Regions from separate parts of the Homo sapiens genome. Here all the other regions are linked to region 2. The links are contacts of gene promoters, found by promoter capture Hi-C in human tissues and cell types (Jung and others, 2019). All regions are on one chromosome and are shown on one strand. The core of a region is centred on a gene start or on the middle of the fragment in contact, and the rest is flanking DNA. Distances in the headings are between cores, read along the strand shown.

Region 1 (2,700 bases), core at 58-2,557, 790 kb before region 2:
GCAAGCTAAGAAAGGAGATTCTGAACAGGCAGGAGTAAGTGACCCCTGCTGGACCAGGTGAGGGGCATCTAGAAAGGGTAGTAGAGTCGGAAGCTGAGCATCAGTTACACTTTAGGACCAACTACAGCAGTGGGGTCTGGAGATTGTCCCTCCTCTTATCTGTTATCCTTTCTACCTCTTCCTCTTCCTTCTTCTCCTCTCTTCTTGTAACAAATCGTGACTTTCCACCACCCAAAGAAGCAGTGACAGAACATGAAACTTAATATGAATGCAAGTTTATCTGAGCAGGTGCAAGGGTGAACTGTGACACATACTGTCAATGCCCTGCCATTGTCCCTCAAACCTGTCAATGTATTCCCAAGACTTCCAACTGCCAGCATCCACATGGTAGCTAAGGGATCATTTTCCCAGAACTACAGAGAGCTGACTGTACACATCACAGTTCACAAGTGCCAAAGAATTAAACACCACCAGGGAGCAGCCTCAACACTCAAACATGGTGTATAAATACCCCAGCTCCCTCACCCTTTGGGTGGGATGCTTCTGAGGCATCGATCATTCTGAGGTTTTGTACCATTTCCCAGAGTTTCCCTGCAGGATAAATCTTCAGTTCCCCTTTGTGATAATAGTGCACCCTTATGGGGCTGCCTTCCCTTCCCTGTATCACCTTCCCACTTCCCTATTAGTGTTACTTATGCTCCCCAAATAAACTATTTTCACTTTAGTCCTTATCTTAAGGTCAGTTCTTGGAAGAACCCATGCTAAGACACATGTGGCTCAAGGACTATGCATTGAGAAGCACTAATTTAGAGAGTGAACTCATTTCTTTTTTTTTTTTTTTTTTTTGAGACGGAGTCTCGCTCTGTCGCCCAGGCTGGAGTGCAGTGGCGGGATCTTGGCTCACTGCAACCTCCACTTCCTGGGTTCAGGTGATTCTCGTGCCTCAACCTCACAAGTAGCTGGAATTACAAGCACCCGCCACCACGCCCAGCTAATTTTTGTTTTTTAGTAGAGATGGGGGTTTCACCATGTTGGCCAGGCTGGTCTCAAACTCCTGACCTCAGGTGATCCTCCTGCCTTAGCCTCCCAAAATGCTGGGATTACAGGAGTGAGCCACTGGACCCAGCCACAACTTTGTTTTATGTGTGTTTCTGCTTAGAGACCCTTATTTAATATATAAATTGTTGATTCACTAGCACTGAACTCACAGCCAACACTACTGTAACTCATGTCTGAACAAAGCTTATCAAGCACACGTATTTTCTCCTTAAGGCACATCACAGCCTTCTTGTGCTTGAGAACACCAGAGAGCACTTCAGCACAATGCTTGGGGCCATTTTAAATAGCAAAATCACCAACAAAAAGGCACAAAAAATGAGAACGGTTCGCACCAAATAAGTCACAAAAAGAATACTTGTTTACACTATGACAGCTGAGACAAGAAGGCAGGGTGTCCCTTTGTTCACCTTCAGCTGGGAACATATGTGTGGGTAAGTCAAGATTTTCACCACTGCACATAAGTATGTCCACAAATAATAGCAATTGTGCCTCAAGTATTGATTTGAAGGTTACAAATAAATTTTAGAAGTAGGTGATTTTGCAAATATGGAATCCATAAATAATGAGGATCAATTTTCTTTATTTTTTCTGATTACAAAAATATATATAATAAACAGAGCTATCTAATGTAAAAGTTAAAGTCCCCCATAATCCCAGCCCACAAAAGAACACAATTAGAATATAGTTCTATAGAATTTTTGTTATGCAAATAATGCCTGTGATTGTGTCTAAGTCTGTGGGTGTCTATGTGTCAGTGTATTTGGGTCTTTCTTTTCTTTTTCTCACTCAACAATAGCTCTTGGATAGCTTTCCAGAAAAAAAAATTCCTGATGTTAATTTCTGGAGTATGAATGGAAGCAGATGGCATACACTGCAGTCAGGATCTCTAAGTCTTAGTTCAGACCACTCAACCACATCAGATGTGGAGAGAGCAATGACTTGCCAAATGTAAAGATAATCAACAGTTTTAGTGTTCTGCATCTTAATGGAGATGGAATAAGGTCAAGAGAAGAACTGCTCAGAGGATAAAAGGACTGAACACTGGGAAGTAAAGTGAAAGAGAAGAGACTGGGTCGGGCACGGTGGCTCACACCTATAATCCCAGCACTCTGGGAGGCCAAGGCAGGCAGATCACTTGAGGTCAGGAGTTTGAGACCAGCCTGGCCAACATGGTGAAACCCCCTCTCTACTAAAAATACAAAAATTAGCTTGGCGTGGTGGCGGGCACCTGTAATCCCAGCTACTCGGGAGGCTGAAGCACAAGAATTGCTTGAGGCTGGGAGGTGGAGGTTGCAGTGAGCCAAGATTGCACCACTTCACTCCAGCCTGGGCAACAGAGCAAGACTCCATCTCAAAAGAAAAAAAAAAGAGTCTGTGACTTTCAGCCAGAGAAAACCACATACTATGTCCTTTGGAGGAGATTAGACCTACATATTAAGACTATCTACTGAAAGGATTTAGACAATAGAGTAAAATAGTACCAGAGCCTCTTCTAAAAACAGCTGCAAAATTGGCTGGGCGCAGTGGCTCATGCCTGTATTCCCAGCACTTTGGGAGGCAGAGGCGGTTGGATGACCTGAGGTCAGGAGTTTGAGACCAGCCTGACCAATATGGTGAAACCCTGTCTTTACTAAAAATACA
Region 2 (2,700 bases), core at 132-2,631:
TGGCCAACATAGTGAAACCCCATCTCTACTAAACATACAAAAATTAGTCGGGCATGGTGGTGCACAACTGTAATCCCAGATACTCGGGAGGCTGAGGCAGGAGAATCGCTTGAACCCGGGAGGCAGAGGTTGCAGCGAGCTGAGATTGCACCACTACACTCCAGCCCGGGCAACAGAGCAAGACTCTGACTCAAAATAAATAAATAAATAAAATAGATGTTTCCGTCTTCCACAGGGAGGACCAAAAATAAATAAATAAATAAAATAGATGTGTCCGTCTTCCACAGGGAGGACGTGGGATGGTGGCGGAGCTGGCTGCAGCAGAGCTACAAATAAATATAAAATAAATAAAATTAAATAAAATTAAATAAATAAAAGAAAGTTATTTCAAAGGATTGTCTGAGAGGCAAAAACCTAACTGCAGTGAGTTCAAGAGAGAATGGGAGGAGAGGGGAGTTGCAGACTGTGAGTAGGCAACGCTTTTGCTGTAAAGGGGAGTAGGGAAACGGTGAGGGATATAGAGAGGGCTGGTTTTTGTTTGCCTTTGAGATGGGAGAAACAGCAGTACGGATGATGACAAGGATAAATGCAGTCATCAGAGGGAAAAGAGATGAAGGGGGGATTACTAGATCTATGTCCTTAAGCAAACAAGAGGCGATGGGATCTACCGCACACGTGGAGGGGCTGACCTTAATTAAAGTCCAAAGTATGTGGGCTGTGGAATCTCCCTTCCAATCGCAGTAGAACTCAATCCAGGCGGTCTCCGGATTTCTCCAGACCACCTCCACCTGGCGTTGTTCTGAGCTGGGCCACCGAAAGTTGAGATTACTGAATGTGTGTGTCTCCCATTAACCCGTAAGCCCTCCAAAGGCTGCATCTAAGTCGCCTCTGAATTATTCACATTCCTCCAAACTCTGGGCCACAGCCCCGCAATATGGGCTTATTGAATTAGCCCAAAGAGACACAAAGCAGCCTCTACGCAGCTGGTTTCACAAAGGGGGGCGGTCCTAACCCTGCGCTCTGGGATCCTGACGTTCGAGCTATCTCTCCTCCTCCCCTCTGCTCCCAGCTCTCCGCAGTCCAGCTTGTCGGCTGATCATCGTCCATAGAGGCCACCGTACCCGACGTTTGCGGACAGTGACAAAGAGTCAAGCTTGGTGGAGCCTGAGGACAGGACTGAATGACGATTGAACTGAGAGTTCAGGGGCGGAGTTTGAGGGCGAACTCGGGACAGAGACTGGATAGAGTTCAGGGAGGCGGGACCTAATGATGGCGCAGGGAGGGGATTGGGCTGAGGGCGGTGCCGGCGCGAGGATTGGGCCGAGCGCCTCGGGGGCGGTCCTTGAGGGGGCGGTGCCGTGTCGGAAGTCAAAGGTCAGTAAATAGTGGTGATGTCATGCAGGCAAGATGGCGGAAGGGTGAGCTTGTCGTTTTGCTCCTAGGCGTTGGGGCCTGAATTCTCCCAGGGTTGGGGTGCTGGGCGAGAGTCCCGGTGGGGAACGTGAGATCAGCGGGGGCGTGGACTGATCTGAAAGGGCAGAGTGGAGTCGCATTGTGAGGGGGTGGGCAAGCGGTCTGCGAAGCCTCGGCCCGCAGGGTACATCTGAGCGGGGAACAAACCGGATCCTTGGGCGGGCAGGAATCGCACCGCGGTGCTGCCAGATGTGTCTGTCTTCCACAGGGAGGACGTGGGATGGTGGCGGAGCTGGCTGCAGCAGAGCTACCAAGCAGTCAAAGAGAAGGTAAGCCGGGCCCGTGCCCTTCTTCCCTCAGCAGGGCCCTGCGCCGCCTCAATGCAACCTGGTCCAACCAGCCCCGCCCAACTTTTGCGGGCGCTAAGTCTCAAGGATGAGGCTGACCTGGGCCTTTCTTTTAGCCTCTACCGGTCCACGGGAAGACAGACCTCGACGCAAACCAGTGTGATACTAGCCACAGTGAAATAAAGATGGTTTTAAAGGCTGGAGTTAACGAACGTTTTGTAGGAATCCATAGGAAGGAGCAATTTATTCCAGCTCAGGAAATTCAGTTTCTTCGTGAAAGAGAGAGCATTTGATACAGGTCTTGAAGGAAAAGATTCTAGCAGTAAAAAAACTTACTCGTATAGTCATTCAAATATTAGAGTATATGCGACAACCAGCACTCTGATAGGTCTTGAGGATACAGACTTCAGCCAAACAGATGTAATCCTGGGCCTTACAAAGCTCACAGTCTAGTGGAGAGACAGCCATTAACCGAGTAGCCAAACAAATAGTTGTTTAGTTACCGTTGTGGTAAGTTCTGTGAAAGGAAAGTACAGGGGCACCTTGTCTGTTCTGGTTAGTCAGTAACTCACCAGGGAAGGCCCCTGTGGAGAAGGAACCTCATCAAGGGCAACCCTGCCTAGACAGGATGAAAAGCAAGAACCCAAGCCAGAGATGAGCATGAGCCATACACACTGGTGCCTGATGAGTTCTAAGTAGGGGCTATGCAACGGGCAGTAGAGAGAGAGAGATTAATCACCAGAGAGTGGAAGGCCTTCTTGCTGAACAATCTCTGTGGGATGAGTGATATTTGGCTGTGCCAGTGGGTAATTTGCCAATGTGTATTCCTGTTTCATTTCATGCTTATTTGTCAAAATCAGCCCAACTGAATTGTGGGAAAAGTTGATTACTATTTACCTCAAGCAATTGGGATGAGTCCTGCTTCAGGGCCAACTCCAGG
Region 3 (2,700 bases), core at 139-2,638, 530 kb before region 2:
ACTGATGGGATTTGGGGTCTCTTATTTTAAGGAGCGGATTTAGGTCCCTAAAAGTCCAAAAAGATAGACTGTGTAGACATGGTGAACTGACTTTCAACATCCATTCCAAACACTTCCTCATACTGCAGAGGCTGCAAAGATAAAAACTATTTCCCAGACTCCCATGCAGCTAACATTCCGCATACAAGTTGGAGTCTACCCCATCAATGGATGAAAAAATAAAGAAAATGTATTTATAAATGATGGAATACTATTCAGCCTTGAAAAAGAAAGAAATTCTGTTATTTGCAACAACATGGATGGAGCTGGAGAACATTATGCTAAGTGAAATAAGCCAGGCACAGACTAATACCACGTTACCACTTGCATGTAGAATCTAAAACAATTGAATCCATAGAAACAAAGTAGAATGGTGGTTACCAGAGGCTGAGGGCTGAGGGGAATAGGGAAAATGATGGTCAAAGGGTACAAGACCTCAGGAGGAATACGTTTGTTTGTTTGTTTGTTTGTTTGTTTGTTTTGAGATCTATTGCACAGCATGGTGAATATAGTTAATAATAGTTGATAGAGTTTGGATATTTGTGCCCATATAAATCTCAGGTTGAATTGTAATCCCCAGTGCTGGAGATGGGGCCTGGTGGGAAGTGATTGGATCATGGGGTGGATCTTTCACGGATTGATGCTGTCCTCACAATAGTGAGTCTAGAGATCTGGTTGACTGAAAGTGTGTGGCACCTCCCCCACCTCTCTATTTCTCTGGCTTTCACCAGTATTAAGTGCTCTGCCTTCCACCATGAATAAAAGCTTCCTGAGGCCTCCCCAGAAGCCAAGCAGATGCCAGGTACCATGCTTGCACAGCCTACAGAACCATGAGCCAATTAAACCTGTTTTCTTTATAAATTATCCAGTCTCAGGTATTCCTTTATAGTAATTTGAGAATGGCCTAATACAATAGTATATGATTGTACATTTCAAATGTACATCATTTGAAGAGTAAATTTCAAATGTTCTTGTGATACCGTAACTTGTATTAAGTTGATTGACTCTCTCTTAGCTGAGAAAGCGAGATGGACTCCATTTGGCTCCTTCCTTTGCAAGACATCAAGGGCTCCTTACCCACCCCCTTCCTCAAGGACTTGTGCAAGCTGACTCTCAGCATATCAAAGAGTGCAATTAACTGATAAGGTACTGTGGCAAGCTATGTCCGCGATTCCCAGGAATTCGCCCAGGTGATGGTACCCTAAAGCCCCTGCATTTGTGTCCAGCAGATAGCACCCAGAGCCCCCGCACCTATCAGCTTGTGATGAATTTAAAACCCCTGCACCTGGAACTGTTTGTTTTCCTGTAACCATTTGTCTTTTTAACTTTTTTTTTTTTTTTTTTTTTTTTTTTTGCCTGTTTTACTTCTGTAAGATTGCTACAGCTAGGCTCCCCGTCCCCTCTCTAAACCAAAGTGTAAAAGAAAATCTAGCCCCTTCTTCGGGGCCGAGAGAATTTTGAGCTCTAGCCATCTCTCGGTCGCCATGTAATAAAAGACTCCTGAATTAGTTTCAAAATGTGGTGTTTCTCTATAACTCGCTTGGTTACAACATTTGGAGGCCCCAGCGAGAAATTCGCCCCTGGGTGAGAGCCCGACTCGTTCCAGGCTCCCCCGGACAGACGGCGGACTTACAGGGGAGGCGCCACCTGAAGACGTTCCAGGGCCCCATAAGACCCTATCTTCCGGAGGGGAACGGATCGACCACCGGTGTGTGCCCACAAAAAATTCAACTCCTAAGTCCTCAGTTTCTAGTCCCGGGAAGGTAAGTCAGATCTGACTCTGTTTCTCTGGGAGGGAAGTGGCTCTGATGAAGGCCGTCCCTTTTTGACTCTGCTCGCATTCCAGGACGCTGGAGGACGGAGTCCTGGTTTTCTGTTAGGCGCCTCTGTGTCTCTCTGAGAGGGAAGCAGCCCTGACGAGGGCCCTCCCGTGACTCTGTCCATATTCTAGGACGCTGGAGGACTGAGTCCTGGTTTCTGGCAGGCCAGCCTCTCCGTTAAGTCTAGGCTGTCTGTCTCTCTCTCTCTCTCTTCTCTCTCTCGCTCTCTCTCTTTCTCTCTCTCTCCTCTCTCTCCCTCCCTCCCTCTTTCTCTATCTCTTCTTCTTTCAGGTCTCCTGGAGACCTCTGTTTTAGAACGGGAATTAAAAAAAAAAACCTGTTGTAAACTCTGTGTGAATCAGTGCATGTATGTGGAGTTCAAGGGCTTGCGCTTGAATTTCCAGTTTGTAGCTCCACCGTGAAAGCTACGGAATTCGAGAGGGCCCTCACCTACTGTTCCGTGGCGACCTCATACGGCTTAAGGCAGCATCTGGCATAGCTCCATCTGAGCCGGGGGTTTATACCGGTCTGCCAATGCGAAGAGGAGCCTAAGTCCCCTCAGGGGGAGCAGCCAGGCGGGCATCTGACTGATCCCATCACGGGACCCCCTCCCCTTGTCTGTCTATAAAAATTGTCATAATTGTTTATATACCCCAGTGTCTATTGTCTTGTTTAGTGTCTATTGTCCTGTCTGGTGTCTGTCTAAGTTTCTTATGTCTGGTCGTTGATATTGCCCAAGACGACTGGGCAAGGACTTCTTCAAAGTCCTGAGTGCAGATTTTCTAACACAGGAGGTCTCAGGCGTGTCTCTTCGGGTTGCCGGGCCCAGGGGCCAGGCGCG

What was found. Contacts are between HindIII fragments. The study calls those that stand out against the background at their distance.
Region 1: a fragment that was not itself captured here is called in contact with the fragment with the promoter of BSDC1 in region 2 in 1 of the 25 tissues and cell types used here (bladder).
Region 3: a contact is called between a fragment that was not itself captured here and the fragment with the promoter of BSDC1 in region 2, in 1 of the 25 tissues and cell types used here (spleen).

The regions. Positions count from the first base shown.
Region 1 is chr1:33,184,952-33,187,651 of GRCh38, reverse strand. It overlaps a transcript of ZNF362 not described here. Among named protein-coding and RNA genes, the nearest start is that of TRIM62, 4.3 kb to the right of the region's middle. The HindIII fragment of the contact is 4,325 bases long and covers 1-2,700 here.
Region 2 is chr1:32,393,122-32,395,821 of GRCh38, reverse strand. BSDC1 (BSD domain containing 1) reads left to right here and starts at 1,381. Exons shown (of 11, transcript NM_018045.8): 1 at 1,381-1,418; 2 at 1,682-1,742. The coding sequence starts at 1,408. RefSeq lists enhancers at 1-248, 996-1,075, 947-1,642, 1,366-1,655, 1,643-2,340. The HindIII fragment of the contact is 8,966 bases long and covers 1-1,928 here.
Region 3 is chr1:32,925,226-32,927,925 of GRCh38, reverse strand. No RefSeq gene overlaps it. Among named protein-coding and RNA genes, the nearest start is that of TMEM54, 25 kb to the right of the region's middle. RefSeq lists an enhancer at 2,351-2,700. The HindIII fragment of the contact is 6,638 bases long and covers 1-2,700 here.